5 separate regions of the Homo sapiens genome follow, and regions 2, 3, 4 and 5 are each linked to region 1. The links are contacts of gene promoters, found by promoter capture Hi-C in human tissues and cell types (Jung and others, 2019). All regions are on one chromosome and are shown on one strand. Each heading gives the region's core, a stretch centred on a gene start or on the middle of the fragment in contact. The rest is flanking DNA. Distances are from core to core; before and after follow the strand shown.

Region 1 (4,079 bases), core at 1,088-3,587:
CCATCCACCCCCCAGGGTTTCTCCAAGGACATCAAGGTGCCCAAGAGCCGCTACCTGGGCTACATCAAGGACTACGAGGGAGCGACGCTGATGGAGTGTGAGCTGAATCCCCGCATCCCCTACACGGAGCTGTCCCACATCATCAAGAAGCAGAAAGAGGTGGTGTGCACACATGCGCATCTGTGGGATTTTTCATGAATGGGCATGCAGAGGGCGAGCACACGTGTGTAGACCTGTTCTACGTCTACATGCATATATGTGTGTGAGTGAGGAGGGGCAGGCCAGGATCTTGGCTCTTGCTCTGCTCCCTTGGGGAAGTTATGAGGGGAGGTGCTGGATTAGGTGGCGTTGCAGCTGGGTGGGTGCAGCCAGTGGCTCCGACTGTGGCCCTGGGAGGGGTTGTTGTTGGGGCTGGAGTTGGCCCCTCAGTCCCTTCCTTCCCTCAGATCATCAAGAAGCTGATTGAGCGCAAACAGGCCCAGATCCGCAAGGTCTACCCGGGGCTCAGCTGCTTCAAGGAGGGCGTGAGGCAGATCCCTGTGGAGAGCGTTCCTGGCATTCGTAAGCAGGGGTCTCAGTTGCAGGGTAGTGGGGGCACGATGCTTGGGGTGTGGACTGGCATTCTTAGAGACATTCTCCCACTTCCCACTTTGCAGGAGAGACAGGCTGGAAGCCATTGGGGAAGGAGAAGGGGTGAGTGTCAAAGGAGCCGGGTTGGGGGTGGGGCAGAGGGACTTGGAGCCTCAGACTTGGTGTCTCTCGCCCCAGGAAGGAGCTGAAGGACCCCGACCAGCTCTACACAACCCTCAAAAACCTGCTGGCCCAAATCAAGGTGGGGAGACCAGGTTTCCTTTCCAGGGCCCCTGCACCAATGGCTGTGGCCTCTTGATGCAGTGTGGGGTGGGTAGTGGTCTCGGGCTGGCGTGGGCGCAGCAGGGCTGTCCCCAGCCCGGCTCTTCTCTCCAGTCTCACCCCAGTGCCTGGCCCTTCATGGAGCCTGTGAAGAAGTCGGAGGCCCCTGACTACTACGAGGTCATCCGCTTCCCCATTGGTGAGGACCTTCCATTCCATCCCCTTCCCTCCTCTTCTGTCCCCACACCTGCTCCTGCCCTCACTGCGCCCTGCAGCCCCAGGGGGCCCACCCTGGTGGACAGCCCTGCCGTGGTCTTCAGCCTCTTAAAGCTGTGCTCCGTCTCCTGCTGCCCCAGACCTGAAGACCATGACTGAGCGGCTGCGAAGCCGCTACTACGTGACCCGGAAGCTCTTTGTGGCCGACCTGCAGCGGGTCATCGCCAACTGTCGCGAGTACAACCCCCCGGACAGCGAGTACTGCCGCTGTGCCAGCGCCCTGGAGAAGTTCTTCTACTTCAAGCTCAAGGAGGGAGGCCTCATTGACAAGTAGGCCCATCTTTGGGCCGCAGCCCTGACCTGGAATGTCTCCACCTCGGATTCTGATCTGATCCTTAGGGGGTGCCCTGGCCCCACGGACCCGACTCAGCTTGAGACACTCCAGCCAAGGGTCCTCCGGACCCGATCCTGCAGCTCTTTCTGGACCTTCAGGCACCCCCAAGCGTGCAGCTCTGTCCCAGCCTTCACTGTGTGTGAGAGGTCTCCTGGGTTGGGGCCCAGCCCCTCTAGAGTAGCTGGTGGCCAGGGATGAACCTTGCCCAGCCGTGGTGGCCCCCAGGCCTGGTCCCCAAGAGCTTTGGAGGCTTGGATTCCTGGGCCTGGCCCAGGTGGCTGTTTCCCTGAGGACCAGAACTGCTCATTTTAGCTTGAGTGATGGCTTCAGGGGTTGGAAGTTCAGCCCAAACTGAAGGGGGCCATGCCTTGTCCAGCACTGTTCTGTCAGTCTCCCCCAGGGGTGGGGGGTATGGGGACCATTCATTCCCTGGCATTAATCCCTTAGAGGGAATAATAAAGCTTTTTATTTCTCTGTGTGATTGTTTCTTTGGTGTAGTCCCAGCCTTAGCAGGCTCACCTTGGCCCCCAGGGACCTCTTGCAAACTGGAGGCTGCTCTCCCCAGCAAGCCTCAGGCCTGGTCCTGTGCTCCTGGGGTGATGGGTCCTACCTGCCTGCAGCCCCCCACCTCTCCCTCCTCCAGGCTGCTCCTGATCCAGATGCCAGGGCAGCAGGGGTCAGAACCTCCTGCCTTCACCTTAACCTGGGTGGATGTGGTTACAACTGACTGCAGAAGGGCCAGAGCGTAGAGGATCCTGTAGCACTGAAAGAGTGCTTCCCTGTTAGCACACGTGGTTCTTTTTCTTGGGGCAGGGATAGGAGATTCGTAAGTCGGCTCAGCTGGCTCCTCCCCTCAGTTTCAGTTTCCATTTCTGATTTCTGCTCTCTGCGCTGAGCACAGCGGCACCAGGCTGAGCTAAGCAGGGCCGCCTTGGGCAGGCCTACGTGGTGGTGCAGGCGAGACCCAGGCTGGGCAAGGCGCAGGTGTAGCCTGTGTTACTCCCACCCCCCCCCACCCCCACCTTTTGGCCACAGCAGGCTTCTGATGAGTTTTGAGGGTGTCCCCCCCCCCACCTCCCTCAAGTGGGGTGGAGTCCTGGGCAAAGGGAGGTCTCTGTACCGACTGCTCTGGCCAGGAGTTGGGATGAGTGGAGGGCCCAGTGGGTCTGAGTCCCCTGCCATTCCCAGAATGGAGCTGTGGCCCTACCAATGGGAGGTGATCATGCCTGCCAGGGCGCTGGCGCAGCAGCAGTACTTAACCGGAGTTTGTACTCACGGCAGTTGGCGATGACTGTTAGCACAAACGGTTCTTTTCTCTTGGTTCTTTTTCCTGGGGCGGGGATGGGAGATTCCTAAGTCGGCTCAGCTGGCTCCTTCCCTCAGTTTCAGTTTCCATCTTGGGTCTCTGAGCTGAGCAGAGTGGCACCAGGCTGAGTTAAGTGGGACTGCCCTGGGCAGACCTACCTACTAGAGCAGGTGAGTCCTGGGCTGGGCAGGGGGCAGGTGTAGCCTGTGTTACTCCCGCCTCCCCCTTTTGGGCAGAGCAGGGTCCTGATGGGTTCTGAGGGAGTCCTGCCCCACCTCCCTCAAGTGGGGTGGAGTCCTGGGCAAAGGGAGGTCTCTGTACTGACTGGTCTGGCCAGGAGTTGGGAGGGGTGGAGGAGTCGGTGGGTCTGAGTCCCCTGCCATTCCCAGAATGGAGCTTCGGTCCTACCAATGGGAGGTGATCATGCCTGCCCTGGAGGGCAAGAATATCATCATCTGGCTGCCCACGGGTGCCGGGAAGACCCGGGCGGCTGCTTATGTGGCCAAGCGGCACCTAGAGACTGTGGATGGAGCCAAGGTGGTTGTATTGGTCAACAGGGTGAGTGGTCTGTCCCTACCCCGCTCTCCCACCACCAAGCAGGGTCTTAGCTCTTCAGGCATCTCCCAGTCCCCACCAGAACTCCAAAGCTGCTGTGGCCATCGCTAAGCTCACCTGTCTTTCCACCCTGGCTCAGTACCCAGCCATGTCCTGCGGGTCACCTTACCGCCTCCCTACCCCTGGCCCCAGATTCAGCTCTCTTTTCCCAGCTCATTCTCCACCCCCAGGTGCACCTGGTGACCCAGCATGGTGAAGAGTTCAGGCGCATGCTGGATGGACGCTGGACCGTGACAACCCTGAGTGGGGACATGGGACCACGTGCTGGCTTTGGCCACCTGGCCCGGTGCCATGACCTGCTCATCTGCACAGCAGAGCTTCTGCAGATGGCACTGACCAGCCCCGAGGAGGAGGAGCACGTGGAGCTCACTGGTGAGGGCCATGGCCGGGAGGAAAAAGATACGCATCTGGGGTACCTCCTTTCGCCAACCCCAGGGCACCTCCTGGAGTCAAGGTGTTGGGAGTTTTAGTGGGAGTGAGGGGTTGCCTGTTCACAAAACCCCTGCAGGCACTCTAGTAGAAACAGGCCGGGCTATCGTGTAGGATCTTAGGCCAGTCCCTTCCCCAGCTGAGCCTCGGTTTACTAATCTGTGAAATGGAAAGAAGTCTTCCCTGCCTGGCTCCTCATCCTGGGACCAGCTGCAGGTTGTGAAGGGAAGAAGGAATTCTTACATCATTGTGGGGACTACTTGAAAG
Region 2 (4,079 bases), core at 1,026-3,525, 410 kb after region 1:
GGAGGCAGTGCCTTGGCTTCCTAATTGGTTATTGATGGCAGAAAAGGAAGAGCTTGATGACGACTCAATCATTCTGGCCCAGGCAACCAGGGCTTTGGAGGATGTGGTAGTTCTGGGGACAAACAGTGACACCTGGAAGGTGTTTGCATCAATGAGGGCATCCATGATCCCCCCTGGGGTAGGGGGCTAGGTAGGGGGAGGTGGGTTCTTGGGTTCTGGCCTCAGCTGCTGTCTGAGAGTGGTGACATGGCAGGGCCAAGAGGGCAGCCTGCAAGCTGCTTGCAGACTGGGCTGGAGAGGCTGCCCACCACCCCTGGGCCCAGGCTGGGCTGTCAAGGACAGAGAGTAGTGGCTACCCTTACTCTGGCTTCCGCTTCTCTCCTGAGCCTCCTCTCTCCTTTTCTCCTCTGATGCCCACCTGTGCCTTCGAAGCAGTGGTTCTCAGCCCAGGCTTTGTATTTGGATCACCTGGCCTCAAGTGATCCTCCCTCCTGGCCTCCCAAAGCCCTGGGATTTATAGGCATGGGCCACCACGCCTGGCCTAACAGTGGTTTTAACTGGGAAAAATAATCCTAAAGGCCCCTCTGTGAGAGGATGAGAGGAGTCTTTATTCGGGTGTGTTCCAGGCTGAATGGCTCATCCCCGGCCCAACAGGTAGGAGGTGAGGGAGCTGAGTTGGGGAACCCCCGGGTCTTGGACTCCATGTGCTGCTGCCTCTTCTCGGCCCACAGCTTCCCATCCCACCCTCTCCAGAAGCCTCGCTCCTGCTGAATCTGTCTTCACTGTGACCTCCAGCTCCTCCACTGTCTGGCTCCTCCCAGCCCGCCTACCCCTCCCAGGGTTTGTCATCTCAGTTCTGTGTGATGCACATAGATTGCTGCCCCTGTCCTGCTTCTGAACCTGCCAGGCTGGTCCCAGGTCCCTGACAGGCCACCCCGACCCCTTCCTCAGCTCCTGCCACTCCCTGCAAAAACCGACAGGAAGTTTCCGAAAGTGACCAGTTGATTCAATTGCAAATTAATATTCTGCAGCTTGGTTGTTACTGGCAACTGTGGTGAATCATTTCTCTTTCATTCCCAAGGTCATTTGACGTCAGCCCCCTTTTCCCCACCGTGAACACAGCTGCCTAAGTCCCGCTTCCGTCCTTTCCTCCTTTCCTCCATCGCTGGAGGTTCTGTCACCCCATTCAGTGTCAGCCCCTCCACCAGGGCCCATCATCCCAGACCCTCCTGCCTGCTTAGAGACCGTGTGCTTTCACTCTTTCATTCACTCATTCATCCATGCATCTGTTTACTCAACACAAATTTTCCAAGTGCCTGCTTTGTGTCAGGCACTGTTCTGACCCTGGGGACACAATGGTGATCGAGGGGGGTCTTTGTTCTTTCTCTTCCCTTTTCTTTGTTGTCTATTGAGCCCAGGAGTGGGGTGGGTTGGAGTGACACATGGTGGGCTCAAGGGGCCATGGGGGAGGTTTGGATGGCTGGTTATGCCTATGACCTCGCTATTGAGAACGTTATTTCAGAGAAGGTAGAAGGATCAGTGCGTTTCTTCAAGCTTTACTGAAGTTTTGCTGCATATATAAACCCACCTGATTCCAAATGATCCCTGGCAGACGGCAGAGGTCATTTCTGTCCACGAGCCAGAGAGATGCTGCCATGTGGCAAGGGCAACACCCCTGCTCATAATGTGCCCACCCAGCCAGCTTTGGAAATGATGCAATTCTTTTTTTTTTTTTTTTTTTTTTTTTAAATAAGCCATTTAGCCAGGCGCAGTGGCTCATGTCTGTAATCCCAGCACTTTGGGAGGCTGAGGCAGGCAGATCACTTGAGAACAGGAGTTCGAGACCAGCATGGCCAACATGGTGAAACCCCCGTCTCCAATAAAAATACAAAAATTAGCTGGGAGTGGTAGCGCATGCCTGTAATCCAGCTACTCAGGAGGATGAGGCAGGAGAATTGCCTGAATCCAGGGGGTAGAGGTTGCAGTGAGCCGAGATCAGACCACTGCACTCCAGCCTGGGCAACAGAGTGAGACTGTCTCCAAAAAAAAAAAAAAAAGCCATTTATTTAGATATTGTTTATATACCATACCTTTTGCCCTTTGAAAGTATACACTTCAGTGGCTTTTATATTATTTACTTTCTTTTTGAGACAAGTTCTTTTTCTTTTTCTTTTTTTTTTGAGACGGAGTCTTCTTCTGTCACCCAGGCTGGAGTGCAGTGGTATGAACTCAGCTCACTGCAACCTCCACCTCCCGAGTTCAAGTGATTCTCCTGCCTCAGCCTCCCAAGTAGCTGGTATTACAGGCGCCCATCACCACATCTGGCTAATTTTTTGTATTTTTAGTAGAGATGGGGTTTCACCGTGTTGGTCAGGCTGGTCTCGAACTTCTGACCTCAAGTGATCTGCCCGCCTCGGCCTCCCAAAGTGCTGGGATTACTGGCGTGAGTCACTGCGCCTGGCTGGGGTCTTCTTATATTGCCTAGGCCGGTCTTGAATTCAGGTGATCCTCCTGCATTGGGCTCCCAAAGTGCTGGGATTACAGACTTGAGCCACTGTGCCCAGCCAAAGACAGGTTTTTTGCTGTGTTGCACAGGCTATTCTCTAACTTCTGGGCTCAATGATCCTCCCACCTAAGCCTCCCAAGTAGCTAGGACTGGAGATGCAAGCCACCAAGCCCAGCTTCAGTGGCTTTTAGTTCACACATTTGTGCAACTATCACCATTATCTAATTCAGAACACTTTCATCACCCCACACCCATTTGCAGTCATTCCTCATTCCCCCTTTTCCCTGGAAACCACAAATCTACTTTCTGTCTCCAAGAATTTGCCTATTCTGAGACTTTCATTTAATTGGAATCATACAATATACGGCCTTTTGTGTATGGGTTATTTTACTTAGCATGATGCATTTGTGATTCATTCATGTTGTAGTATACATCAGAACTTCATTCTTTTTTTTTTTTGAGACAGAGTCTCGCTCTGTTGCCCAGGCTGGAGTGCAATGGCAGGATCTCAGCTTACTGCAACCTCCGCTTCCTGGGTTCAAGTGATTCTTCTGCCTCAGCCTCCCAAGTAGCTGGGATTACAGGTGCCTGCCACCACGCCCAGCAAATTTTTTGTATTTTTAGTAGAGACGGGGTTTCACTATGTTGGCCAGGCTGGTCTCGAACTCTTGACCTCAGGCAATCCACTCGCCTCGGCCTCCCAAAGTGCTGGCATTACAAGTGTGAGCCACTGCACCCGGCCTTTTTTTTTTTTTTTTTTGAGACAGAGTTTCGCTTTTGTTGCCCAGGCTGGAGTGCAATGGCGCGATCTCGGCTCACTGCAACCTCCGCCTCCAGGGTTCAAGCGATTCTCCTGCCTCAGCCTCTCGCGTAGCTAGGATTACAGGTGCTCACCACCACACCCGGCTAATTTTTATATTTTTATTTATTTTTTATTTTATTTTATTTTTTTTCGAGACAGCGTCTCACTCTGTTGCCCCGGCTAGAGTGCAGTGGTACGATCTTGGCTCACTGCAACCTCCGCCTCCCGGGTTCAAGTGATTCTTCTGCCTCAGCCTGGCCAGCATGGTGAAACCCCGTCTCTACTAATAATACAAAAAATTAGCTGAATATGGTGTCGCGTGCCTGTAAGCCCAGCTACTCGGGAGGCTGAGGCAGAATAATTGCTTGAACCTGGGCGGTGGAAGTTGCAGTGAGTTGAGATTGCGCCATTGCACTCTGGCCTGGGTGACAAGAGTGAGACTATCTCAAACAAAACAAAACAAAACAAAACAAAACAAAGAAATGGTGCCAAATCTTATTTATTAATTTAGAGACAGGCTCTCTCTCACTCCCGTTGCCCAGGCTGGTGTCCAGTGGCGCAATCTTGGCTTCCTGGGCTCAAGTGATTCTCCCCTGTTAGTCTCCTGAGCAGCTGGGATTGCAGGCACACACCACCGCACTGGCTAATTTTTTTTTTTTTTTTTTTAGTAGAGACAGGATTTTGCCATGTTGCCTGGGCTGGTCCCGAACTCCTAGGTTTAAGCAATCTGCCCGCCTTGGCCTCCCAAAGTGCTGGGATTACAGATGTGAA
Region 3 (4,079 bases), core at 450-2,949, 330 kb after region 1:
ATGCCTGGCTAATTTCTGTATTTTCAGTAGAGATGGGGTTTCACCATGTCGGCCAGGCTGGTCTCGAACTCCTGACCTCAAGTGATCTGCCCACCTTGGCCTCCCAAATTGCTGGGATTACAGGCATGAGCCACCACGCCTGGCCGAGAAGTTCTCTCTGATCTCTACCCCAGGCTCTCCTATCGCAGAGGGGTGTGCTGCCCGGTTTATTTTTTTCTTTTCTTTTTTTTTTTTTTGTTTGAGATGGAGTCTCGCTCTGTCATGCCCAGGCTGGAGTGCAGTGACATGGTCTCGGCTCACTGCAACCTCCGCCTCCCAGGTTCAAGCAATTCTCCTGCCTCAGTCTCCCAGGCAGCTGGGATTATAGTTGCCCGCCACCACGCTCGGCTAACTTTTTGTATTTTTTGTAGAGATGGGGCTTCACCATATTGGCCAGGCTGGTGTTGAACTCCCGACCTCAGGTGATCCACCCGCCTTTGCCTCCCAAAATGCTGAGATTACAGGAGTGAGCCACTGCGCCTGGCCTGCCCCGTTTCTTTCATGCCAGGGCTGGATTTCCTTCAGATCTGCTGCTTGATGTTTCCAAGCCCACCAAAGCCTCCTGACACCAATACTGTATTTTTGTGCCAATTAATTGTTCTGTCTCTCCTCCAAGTGTTTGTGCCTTTTCTCTGCCCCTTCCCCATTGCCTTGACATTTTATGTCTATGCTCCTCTTCCATGAGGGGAACAGCTGGTTTGATGGTCCTTCAAATGAGAGGAAGGAGGTTCTAGCTTGGGGTGTGCCACTTTGTAGTTTTGTGACTTCTCTGAACTTCGGTTTCTTCATCTTTACAATGAGGGTCGTTTTCTCATCCTAACTATTTTTCAGAGCTGTCACAATAATTAAAAAAAAACATACCGTTAATTTAAATTTCTAACCTTTAGCAGTTTCTGAGTGCTTTCACAAACCTGACCTCATTTAATCCCCACATACTCCAGTGAGGTAGATATGGCTAATGTATCCAGTTTACAGAAGAGGAGAAACAGGGTGAAGTAACTTGCCTAAAATCATACCAAGTGGGAGAAGACCAAACCTGGCCTTCTAATTCTAAATCCCAGGAGTACTCCATCTTTCGGGAAAAAAATCCCACCCCAGCACAAAGCCTATGAAATGCTATACAAATATGTGATTACTACTTTGGGGCAAGGATGAATAAGCCCAAAGAAGCATCATGCCTGACGCTGAGTTGGCTGGCCGGTGAAGGCGTCTGTCCCTTCCCTTGGTATCCCTATGACTTACCTGTTGGACAGGTAGGGGGAAGGGGAGAGTAATGAGTCTCACCTGCTCAGAGCAAGGGTGGGGCAAGACACACCCCATCCCTTCCATTGGTTTTTTCCTTAGTCTTACTGACAGAGCCTTGTCCAATCAGGAGGAAGTAACTTTCTATCTGCCAATAGATGCAATGTTAGGATGAGACCTCAAGTTAGAGTCCATCCCTAGAGCCGACTGGCAGTCCCCGGGGCCAATGGCAAGCGGATAAACAGAGGCGGCCGTGGAAGAGGACTGGAGGCGAGGCTCCGCCCCTCCACGGGACAGTCAGGCGAGATAGCCAGTGAGCTCGCACCAGAGGGTGGGCGTCTCCCCCAGGGGCGGAGCTTCGAGGTGGCGAGGGGCGTGGCTTGGCTGTCAGGTCTCTTCGCCTTTTGTTCGGTTACTGAGTTGCTGCCTTGGCCAGAGTCCGGAGCAGCCGCCGCCCGACCACGCCGAGCTCAGTTCGCTGTCCGCGCCGGCTCCCACCCCGGCCCGACCCCGACCCGGCCCGGTCAGGCCCCATACTCAGGTGCGGGCTATCGGGGGCGCAGGTATCGTTGGGGACAGAGGGGTGGCGAGCGGCCGCGGGGCCGGTCCCAGCCGTCCCTGGGCAGGTGAGGGCCGGTGCCATCGAGCGCCACCCTGCACCGGCGGCAGGGGGCGCGCTGGGGTCCTGGGCGCGGCGACTTGGGGGTCGCGCGGTTCGGGCCGAGCGCGCCTCGGAGCTCCGCGAACCAGAGATCTGAGCAAGGCGGGGAGGGATCCGGACAGGTGCCTCCGGGGTCGCGCCTCCCCCGGGGCCCGCGCAGCTCGCCCGACGCCGCGTCCCTGACTCTCGCCCTGGGCTGGCGGGGGAGACTTTGCTCTGCTTCGACTGCGTCCCAGGGCTCACGCTGCAGTCAGGAATTTACCGTTTGGGGAACTTGCTGCCGCTGGTCTCTTTGGGGCCACCCTCACCCCACCCCACGCGTCATCCTCGCTTTCCCTCCCTCCCTACTCCCCCAGGCCTGGGTGGGGCCCTATTGTTTGCGCCCAGCTTGCCCAACTGTGGGGGCCGAGCGCACATTTTCCCAGCGACTCTGGCCCCACCTGCCGAGCAGGTGAGCGCACGGAGTCCAGAGGCCCTGCCCTCCAGCTCCCAGAGCCTCGTCGATACTACCTGCGGCGCCTCCCTCCACGCCGGTGGGAGCCCGGCTCTGGCTTCTTCAGCGGAGGTGGGATGGAGTGACTGGGGGGTGCAGGGCTCGGCTCAGTGTCCAGCTGGTGTCTGGCACCCGTGGCTCGCCCTGGGGTCTGGGGGGTGGGGTCTGTGCACGGATGAAGAATTCAGGGTCACCTGGCCCAGTTTCCAGTAGCTGTGGCTGCCAGAGTGTTGGTAGGGGAACAGGACCCGTCTTCTCTAACCTCTTATTGTTGGAAAAAATCACCCAAAACAAACTTTGCAGGAGGAAGTATTCACAGCAGCTTTATCTGGGGGTTTTCCCGTCTCCTTGCCCAAAACTTCCTTTAGGCTTAGGGGGTCCTTCCTGGTGCAAAACCCCTTCCCCCAGCCGGCCCCTGGCTGAACCTGGGCCGGTGCCTGGGCTCCGACCCTGTCTTCCCTGCCCCCACATTCATCCTGTTCGCTGGGCCCCAGGGGCCTGAGGTAGGGGCCGGGGTGGGGGGTGGAAAGTGCTGAGAGGGGAAGCAGCTTCTTCCTTCTCTTCCTGCCTCCTGGGACCACCACACCCCCTCAGACAAGGCCTGCGTAAGTGGTTGTCTCTCAAGCTCTGCCCCCTCCCCAGGAATGGGGGTGGGGCAGGGCTGGGCCAAACTGAGGAAGGTGGGGGGAGTGGTTGTTCTTGTCTTTTTTTTTTTGCCTCTACCCCATCCCCCACATTACTTAGCTGGCTGGTTATTGAGGCAGAAGCGCATGAGGCTGTGGGACTTGCCTTCCATTTGATTTCTGAATTGTGAAGGTGCATGCTTTCTGGAGGCCTGCACAGACCTTTCCCACCCGCTTTCCTGAAAGAATTTGACAGGGAAAGTGAGACCGCAGGAAGGCTTTTTGGGGGAAGGTTTCTTCAATGCTAGACTCTCTCAGGCAGAGCTGCATCGGGCCCCCTGCCTTCCCTGCTCCCAATTTCCTGAGACCGCCCCCCCCCACCCAGAATTGGGGATCTTGATCAGGGTTTGTACCCCGGTTTAAAAAAAAAATCTGAAATGTGGTCTTTTTGCAGGATTTGGAGCCCAGCCTCGTTGGGGAACAGAGAGAGAATACAACAGTTGGGTTCTCTCTCAGTCCTGGGGGTGGGAGAAAGATTGTGGGGGGCGGGGATCGAGAGTGCTTGGAGGGGAAGAGTCTACCACCTCTTTCTTTGTTGTAGATGGGGGAGTGAGGCTGGGGGCCCAGACTCAGCCCCTTTATCCTGGGTGGGGATCACGCTCAGCCCTGTGCTAGGGGGAAGTCAGTGTGGGAACTCAGATCCTTTTCTGCCGGGGGATGGGATTCTGCACCTCTGGGGAGCAACAGGAGCAGGGAGTTTGGGCAAAAATAACCTGCTTTCCCTCTTCTCTGTGCCAAGGTGGAGGAGGGGAGGGCATTGTAATTATGTTGGCTACATGATTAGTTTAGCTAATCTGGTTTGTGGCTGTGATGAAAAGATAATACTGAGGAAGTACTGCTAGGAGGTGCTTGGTGAAAACTGGCCACTGACTGGACTGGGGGATGCGGGGGAGGAGGAGAAGGTAGGACCCAGTTAGTCATTTCTTGCTAGATCAAGCCCCAGCTTGGGTGACTTGAGCCC
Region 4 (4,079 bases), core at 417-2,916, 310 kb after region 1:
ACCAGCAGTGTCCAGACGAGGGAGGTATGAAGGTACACATCCACTCCTACCTGCTCCCCTCCCTACCTTCATTACCCTCACTGCTGACCTTTGTCCCTCTTTCCCAGGAACACCCTAGGTAACCAATGGAGGAAATCTGTTGGAGTTGAGGGCCAGGCTGGCAAATATGGGGCACATGGTGCCACTCCTGCCTTCCTTGTCAGTGGCAGACATTGCTAATCGATTGAGGGACTCTTTGTCACCAAACTCTCAGAATCCTTAACCCAGTGTTCCAAGCAGCCACGATGATCTGATGAGCTTGTGAGCTGATACCTATTCTCTGATCCTTGAGCTAGAAGAGGGCCAGTGGGCCCAGATCCTAGGAGCCCTGGCTTCTTGCCATCTGGCAACAGGGTATGGCTCACCCCCCACCCCGTCCTTCCCTCCTTCCAGGAGGCCATGCTCTACCACAACCAGACCGCCGAGCTGCGGGAGCTGCTGGAGTTCACCCACATGTACCTGCAGTCAGATGATGAGGTGAGTGCCTCCTGCTTTCCAGGATTGGGCTGTGATGGGGACACCTTGGACCTTTTCCTGGGGCCACCAGTGTGCCAGAATTCAGCCCCAGCCCCTGGTGGTCAGCTGTCGTGAAGAAGAGAGGTTTGCCTGTTCCTTGTCTAGACTGTCCGTTCCTTCCCCAGCCTTAGTATTCTCATGTCCTCCTTTTGTACATGTCTCAATCCTGTTCCTCCCAGGCCCAGCTCACATGGTGCCTCCTCCAGGAAGCCCTTGCTGCATGCCCTGGCTCTTTGTTCTGGGCTAGCAGTGCCCACTCTGACCTGTGTGCCTCCCTGGCCACCTGTGGCCTGGACCTGGGTGATTGCAGCCCTCGTCCATCTCAGCCCTGGGCCCCTTCTCCAGCCAGTATCCAGGAGAACCGCACTGCAGGACACAGGGCCACATTATTCCCTGTTCTCCCACATCCTGCACAGAGCCTGGGCTCAGAAACTGAGTTTGAATGAACCAGTGAATGAATGAATGCAGGACCTCAGGACAGAAGGACCGTATTGTATTACATTGATTTATTTTATTTATTTATTTATTTTTTTTTTTTGAGATGGAGTCTCGCTCTGCCGCCCAGGCTGGAGTGCAGTGGTGTCATCTCAGCTCACTGAAACCTCTGCCTCCCGGGTTCACACGATGCTCCTGCCTCAGCCTCCGGAGTAGCTGGGATTACAGGCGTGCACCACCACGCCTGGCTAATTTTTGTATTTTTAGTAGAGACAGTGTTTCACCGTGTTGGTCAGGCTGGTCTCGACCTCGTGACCTCATGATCTATCTGCCTCGGTCTCCCAAAGTGCTGGGATTACAGGCGTGAGCAGCCGCACCCGGCCCTATTAACATTGATTTCAAGTGAGGGTTTGACAGCCTTAATTTCTCTGAGGTGTTGCTGCTCAGTGCTCATTTATGTATCCTCTCCTTTGTTCATGCCCCCACGCCCCCACCCATCCAACCCCAGAGGAGGAGGGCAGAATCTACACCGTCAGCACCCAGGATGAGGAACTAGCCAGACCTGGCTCCATTACTTACCAGTTGGGTGGCCTCCAAACAAGTGTCAGGCAACCTCTCAAGCTTCTGTTTCTTCATCCATTGAATGGGGAGAATCATGCCCATCTCACATTGTTGTGGTGAGAATAACACAAGATCTGGCCGGGTATGGTAGCTCATGCCTGTAATCCCAGCAATTTGGGAGGCCGAGGCAGAGGGATCACCTGAGATCAGGAGTTCAAGACGAGCCTGGCCAACATAGTGAAACCCTGTCTCTATTAAAAATACAAAAATTACTCAGGTGTGGTGGTGGGCACCTGTAATCCCAGCTACTGGGGAGGCTGAGGCAGGAGAATGGCTTGAACCAGAGGCAGAGGTTGCAGTGAGCCGAGATCGCGCCACTGTACTCCAGCCTGGGTGACAGATTGAGACTCTGTCTCGAAAAAAGAGAAAGAATTAAGTGAGATCAAGTATGTTTTTTTGTTTGTTTGTTTTTGAGACAGAGTCTCGCTCTGTCGCCCATGCTGGAGTGCAGTGGCGTGATCTCAGCTCACTGCAAGCTCCGCCTCCCAGGTTCTCACGCCATTCTCCTACCTCAGCCTCCCAAGTAGCTGGGACCACAGGCGCCTGCCACCACGCCCGGCTAATTTTTTTTGTATATTTAGTAGAGATGGGGTTTCACTATGTTACCCCGTATGGTCTCGATCTCCTGACCTTGTGATCCACCCACCTCGGCCTCCCAGAGTGCTGGGATTACAGGTGTGAGCCACCACACCCGGCCTCAAGTATGCATTTTTCTTTTTTTTTTCTTGGAGACAGAATCTCACTCTGTCACCCAGGCTGGAGTGCAGTGGTGCGATCTCTGCTCACTGCAACCTCCACCTCTTGGGTTGAAGAGATCCTCCTGTCTCAGCCTCCGAGTAGCTGGGATTACAGTCATGCGCCACCATGTCCAGCCAATTTTATTTTGTATTTGTAGTAGAGACAGGGTTTCACCACGTTGGCCAGGCTGGTCTCAAACTCCTGACCTCAAGTGGTCCGCTTGCCTCGGCCTCCCAAAGTGCTAGGTTTACAGGCGTGAGCCACCGCTCCTGGCTGAGATCAAGTATGTAAAGCACTTGATAAAGAGCCAGTACCTGGTAGGTGCACAGTGAATGACAGCCGAGTCTCACTCTGTCATCCAGGCTGGAGTGCAGTGGTGCAGTCTCAGCTCATTGCAACTTCCGCCTCCCAGGTTCAAGCGATTCTCCTGCCTCAGCCTCCTGAGTAGCTGGGATTACAGGCGTGTGCCACCATACCCAGCTAATTTTTGTATTTTTAGTAGAGACATGGGGTTTCACCATGTTGACCAGGCTGGTCTTGAACTCCTGACCTCAAATGATCCACCGACCTCAGCCTCCCAAAGTGCTGGGATTACAGGTGTGAGCCACCACGCCTGGCGTATGGCAGCCATTTTGACGGCTGTCTCTTATTTCCTGTGGTTTGCCAGACACCAGACTAGGGGCTGGAGTAAGTTAGTGAAAGTCATGGTCCTGGCGGGGCACGGTGGCTCACACCTGTAATCCCAGCACTTTGGGAGGCCAAGGCGGGCGGATCACGAGGTCAGAAGATTGAGACCATCCTGGCTAACACGGTGAAACCCGGTCTCTACTAAAAATGCAAAAAATTAGCCAGGAGTGGCGGCATGCGCCTATATTCCCAGCTGCTGGGGAGGCTGAGGCAGGAGAATGGCGTGAACCCAGGAGGCAGAGCTTGCAGTGAGCCGAGATCATGCCACTGCACTCCAGCCTGGGCAACAGAGCAGACTCCGTCTCAAAAAAAAAAAAAAAAAAGGAAGTCATGGTCCCTTTCACGTGCCGCTCACAGTCTAGTGGGGGAAGCACAAACTGCTGCTGGAGAGGGCAGCACACGGCACCAGGGGAGGTCTCCAGCCCAGCCAGAGTCACCAGCAAGGGCTCAGCCTGGAACTGATGCCTGGCTTTGGAGGGATTAGTGCGGGCTACGCAGGCACAGGGGACAGCAGTAGTTCCTGGCAGGGAAACAGTATGAGCAAATATTATGCATGGACTAGCAATATTCTTGCCAGGGTCTTTATGCTTAAAAGGTGGGGCTGTGCAGGGGCGATGTTTATGCTGACACCAAATTCTGCTGGTGGTGCCCTATGCAGCCACTCAGGGAGGGGCAGTTTGGGAAAAATCCTCAGGACTGTCTCATTAGATCTTGAGACTGGGGAGGGGGAGGGGCTTTGGGGACCGAGAGATGGGATGGGAAGTCCCATTGGCCAGGAAGGGAGCCCATATGGGTTTGGGCGTACTGTGACCCGGTTTCTCCCACAACCGTGGCGCTACTCTAGATGGAGCTGGAGGAGACAGAACCGCCCCTGGAGCCTGAGGATGCCCTATCTGACGCCGAGTTTGAGGGGGAGGGTGACTACGAGGAGGGCATGTATGCTGACTGGTGGCAGGAGCCGGATGCCAAGGGTGACGAGGCCGAGGCTGGTCAGTGACACGAGTCCTTGGGGGGTGGGGATGCAGCCTGGGATGGAGGTTGGG
Region 5 (4,079 bases), core at 1,580-4,079, 280 kb after region 1:
GAGATCACGCCACTGCATTCCAGCCTGGGGGACAAAGCGAGACTCCATCTTAAAAAAAGAAAAATTGTATCTTGCCAGGCGCGGTGGCTAATGCCTGTAATCCTAGCACTTTGGGAGGTCAAGACGGGCAGATCACCTGAGGTCAGGAGTTTGAGACCAGCCTGAGCGACATGGCAAAACCCTGTCTCTACTAAAAATACAAAAATTAGCCGGGCGTGGTGTCAGGCGCCTGTAATCCCAGCTACTTGAGAGGCTGAGGTGGGAGAATGGATTGAACTGGGGAGGCGGAGTTTGCAGTGAGCCGAGATGGCGCCATTGCACTCCAGCCTGGGTAACAGAATGAGACTCATCTCAAAAAAAAAAGACAAAAATCAGATCTCTCAAGAGCAAAAGGAAAAAAAAAAACAAAACAAACAAAAAAAAAAAAGAGAGAAAAAAGGCCCTGACCCTAGTCATGCCTCTTCAGAAGGCAAAGGAGCCAGGCAGGAGCTCCTGCCTGGACCAGAGTTGGCCAGGCACAGTGGTAATCCCAGCACTTTGGGAGACTGAGGCAGGAGGATCGCTTTGGGCCAGGAGTTCAAGACCAGCCTGGGCAACATAGCGAGACTCCCTCTCTACAGAACATTTCAAAAGTAGCCGGACGTAGCAGCATGTGCCTGTAGACCTAGCTACTTGGGAGGCTGGAGTAGGTGGATTGTTTGAGCCCAGCAGTTGAAGGCTGCAGTGAGCTATGATTGCATCACTACACTCCAGCCTGGGTGAAAGAATGAGAGCTTATCTCTAAAAAAAAAATTTTTTTTTAATTTTTAAGGAGCCCAGAGCTTTGACAGTGTCCCTAAAGTTAAGGTGATGGGGTGGGAAACAGAAAATGGATCAAAGTGTCTCAAAATGAGCCCAATTACCCCTTTGGCTGAATTTGGCAACCCTGTTATACCTAAAGTAGGAACTGCAGCTACAGAGGATGTTCTTATGGGCACTGAACTCAAAGCCATTGACCTTGATGACCACGTCGCAGAGCTTGCCCTCTAGTCTAAGCTCGTTGAAGATCTCACAGGCCATCGCACTCATCTTCCTCTCCATGTGAGGCTGGTGGAAACGTGTGGAGGCCGCCGCGCTCTCCATCTCCATGGCACCCTGGGACAGCGGAGAGAGGCTGCTTTCCTAGGGTGTCGGGGAGGGTTGTGGGGGGCCCCTTTAGCCAGCTGTCGCTCCTTTTCCCTACTACATCTTTTGTATAGGGTCTATCAGGCAACCCAAGTTCCAGAATCCTGGCCCTGCAGTGAGATCACACAGGATTGTGCTCTCAGGTTCTGGAACTGCCTCCTGGACTTGTCCTCTTCCTTCTCCCCTCCTTACCACCCCACTTAGGCTGAAAACCACCTCACACCTCCTTCTGTGTCCTTGAACCCAAAACAGAACCATGACCACTAGCACCATCTGAGTGTTTATTGATTCCAGCTCCTGTTACTCACCTGATACAGGTCTCTATCCCTGGAGCATTCATCTACCTTCCACAGCCCAACACTTGGCTCCCTAGACACCGAACTCAAGGAAATCCAAGTCAATTGAGGCTGAAGGGAGAAGTAAAACTGATTAAATTTCTTTCTTAGGCCGGGCGCAGTGGCTCACACCTGTAATCCCAGCACGAGGTGGATGGATCACAAGGTCAAGAGATCAAGGCCATCCTGGCCAACATGGTGAAACCTCGTCTCTACTAAAAATACAAAAATTAGCTGGGCGTGGTGGCACATGCCTGTAGTCCCAGCTACTTGGGAGGCTGAGGCAGGAGAATCGCTTCAACCCAGGAGATGGAGGTTGTAGTGAGCCGAGATCGCTCCACTGCACTCCAGCCTGGCGACAGAGTGAGACTCCATCTCAAAAAAAAAATCTTTCTTTTTCTAGGGACGGGTCTCGCTCTCTCACCCAGGCTGGAGTGCAGTGGTGTGATCATAACTCACTACAGCCTCGACCTCCTGGGCTTAAGTGATCCTCCCACCTCAGCCTCCTGAATAGCTGGGATTACAAGTGCTCCGCACCGTGCCCAGCCAACGCTGATTACATTTCAGAAAGCTGTCCCGGGTCTCCCAGCCCGCTGGATGGGTTAGTCACTCAGTTTCTTCTGGAATGAGGAATGGCCTAGTTAACAGAGCCCTTTCTGGGTGATTAACAGAATTCAGTTTATGGCTCCTTCATCTCTCCTCCCATCCAGCCGTGTGGTTTTTCTGTTTTTGTTTCTGAGACAGGGTGTCATCTGTCACCCAGGGTGGAGTGCAGTGGTATGATCTCGGCCTACTGGAGCCTGGATCTCCCGGGCTCAAGTGATCCTCGTGCCTCAGCCTCCCGAGTAGCTGGGACTACAACAGGTGCGTGTCACCATGCCCGGCTAATTTTTGTATTTTTTGTAGAGACAGGGTTTCGTCATATTGCCCAGGCTGGTCTCGAACTCTTCGGCTCAAGCGATCATCCTGCCTCGGCCTCCCAAAGTCCTGGGATTACAGGTATGGGCCACCGCGCCCAGCCCCAGTCATGTTTTTGTCACAAACTTTCAGCCTGGAAATGACCACGTTTGGCAAGGCTTTTCCTCCACAAAGAGTGGCAGAACCCTACCTACCCACGTAACCCCAACACCTTGGGACCTTCACCCTGCTCTTCATAATAAATAGAACCCTCCTCCAGTTTGCCTAGCGCAACCGGCAAGCCCACCCGGATCGCGGCCATCTCCGGGACCGCTCGATTCTCGGCCCCACCCCCGCCCCGCCCCCGGCCCCACCAACCCCCGCCCGGGCTCCAGGCGGGAGGCGACGCCTGCGCAGTGCGGTCGCGGGGCTGTCGTTGTCCCGCGAGCCGCCGACCAGGCCTCGAACGGGATGGCAGAGGAGGTGAGGAGGGAGGAAGCGTCCGGAGTGGGGCGGGCCCGGACTCCGACCCCCGGGGCGCTTCGAGCCCCCCAGCTGGTCACCGAGGCACCGCCGCTTCACCCAGGCCAGTAGCCGCCCCCTCGCGCACCCCGGCCCCGCCTCACACGCGCGCCCGAGCGAGCCCCGGGCTCCCCTCGGGCCCAGCGTGGCGCAGGGGTCAGTGGTTCTCTCGGGTCTCGGGACAGGTGAGCACCCTGATGAAGGCCACGGTCCTGATGCGGCAGCCTGGGCGGGTGCAGGAGATCGTGGGCGCCCTCCGCAAGGGCGGCGGAGACCGGTTACAGGTACCTCTGGGGCGTGCGGGGGCCGGCCGGGCTGGGGGCGGCTGGAGAGGCTTCCTGCCCATTGGGCCTTCCCGCTTTGCTCTGCCGCGGACCCCTCCTAGCTCTCTGCCCCAAGAAATGGCCGGGAGCTTGAAGGAGAGCGGGTTGGTTCGCCTGTCCTAAAACCCAAATTTCAGATTTCTCAATATGGTCATGCTGCTTCCTCTAATTGGACAGAAGGCGCCCACACCAGTACCTAGGGCCTTATCCTCCCCAAGCCAGCGGCTCCCCAGTAAGTTGAAGATGTCCAGATGGGCCGTAATGGTAGAGATCTCTTAGGAGGGACCTGATATTGAAGGAGTCAGAGGGGTCCTGAGTATTCACCCTTGCCCCCACACTAGGAGACTGCGTTTTCCTCAGGGTTAACGGGTACTAATTAGGATCACTTCCCCTCTATCCCTCTGTGTCACTCGGTAACTCCCCTAGGGCTTTGCCTACATCCTGGCCACTGAGCTGTATTGATTTCCATAATCATCCCCCAGGCTGAGGCAGGGCCACACTAGAATTCTGGTGCCTATTTAGGCATCATCTCTCTTTTGCCTTATAGGTGATTTCTGATTTTGACATGACCTTGAGCAGGTTTGCATATAATGGAAAGCGATGCCCTTCTTCTTACAGTAAGTCACATTCTAGCTTCCCTTGTTGAGCTTGACAAGACGATGGGTTCTAAGGGACAAGTAAAAGGAGTTTTCTCTTTTTCCAGATATTCTGGATAATAGCAAGATCATCAGTGAGGAGTGTCGGAAAGAGGTGGGTTGCTCCCGTCCTTTGCTCAGAAATGGTTGTCATTTGCTACTTCAAATGGTTCCTGATTGGAACCAAAGATTCCAGTATAGAG

The links. Contacts are between HindIII fragments. The study calls those that stand out against the background at their distance.
Region 2: a fragment that was not itself captured here is called in contact with the fragment with the promoter of DHX58 in region 1 in 1 of the 25 tissues and cell types used here (IMR-90 fibroblasts).
Region 3: the fragment with the promoter of JUP here is called in contact with the fragment with the promoter of DHX58 in region 1 in 2 of the 25 tissues and cell types used here (lymphoblastoid cells and stomach).
Region 4: a contact is called between a fragment that was not itself captured here and the fragment with the promoter of DHX58 in region 1, in 1 of the 25 tissues and cell types used here (H1 embryonic stem cells).
Region 5: the fragment with the promoter of NT5C3B here is called in contact with the fragment with the promoter of DHX58 in region 1 in 1 of the 25 tissues and cell types used here (IMR-90 fibroblasts).

What each region holds. Positions count from the first base shown.
Region 1 is chr17:42,110,972-42,115,050 of GRCh38, reverse strand. It overlaps DHX58 (DExH-box helicase 58), which reads left to right and starts at 2,337. Exons shown (of 14, transcript NM_024119.3): 1 at 2,337-2,446; 2 at 2,846-2,938; 3 at 3,158-3,326; 4 at 3,554-3,755. The coding sequence starts at 3,159. It overlaps KAT2A (lysine acetyltransferase 2A), which reads left to right. Exons shown (of 18, transcript NM_021078.3): 13 at 16-159; 14 at 447-561; 15 at 657-693; 16 at 769-832; 17 at 967-1,051; 18 at 1,209-1,940. The coding sequence ends at 1,402. RefSeq lists enhancers at 1,970-2,489, 2,730-2,829. The HindIII fragment of the contact is 12,117 bases long and covers 1-4,079 here.
Region 2 is chr17:41,702,628-41,706,706 of GRCh38, reverse strand. No RefSeq gene overlaps it. Among named protein-coding and RNA genes, the nearest start is that of GAST, 7.7 kb to the left of the region's middle. RefSeq lists an enhancer at 863-1,655. The HindIII fragment of the contact is 6,214 bases long and covers 1-4,079 here.
Region 3 is chr17:41,784,331-41,788,409 of GRCh38, reverse strand. JUP (junction plakoglobin) reads left to right here and starts at 1,699. Exons shown (of 14, transcript NM_002230.4): 1 at 1,699-1,822. RefSeq lists silencers at 1,731-2,030, 2,195-2,407. The HindIII fragment of the contact is 40,774 bases long and covers 1-4,079 here.
Region 4 is chr17:41,803,233-41,807,311 of GRCh38, reverse strand. It overlaps P3H4 (prolyl 3-hydroxylase family member 4 (inactive)), which reads left to right. Exons shown (of 8, transcript NM_006455.3): 6 at 433-516; 7 at 3,881-4,025. Among named protein-coding and RNA genes, the nearest start is that of P3H4, 6.7 kb to the left of the region's middle. The HindIII fragment of the contact is 7,644 bases long and covers 1-4,079 here.
Region 5 is chr17:41,834,982-41,839,060 of GRCh38, reverse strand. It overlaps NT5C3B (5'-nucleotidase, cytosolic IIIB), which reads left to right and starts at 2,829. Exons shown (of 9, transcript NM_052935.5): 1 at 2,829-2,879; 2 at 3,104-3,202; 3 at 3,789-3,858; 4 at 3,945-3,991. The coding sequence starts at 2,868. It overlaps KLHL10 (kelch like family member 10), which reads right to left and starts at 1,236. Exons shown (of 5, transcript NM_152467.5): 1 at 935-1,236. The coding sequence starts at 1,128. RefSeq lists an enhancer at 2,226-2,305 and silencers at 2,726-3,105, 3,236-3,345. The HindIII fragment of the contact is 24,571 bases long and covers 1-4,079 here.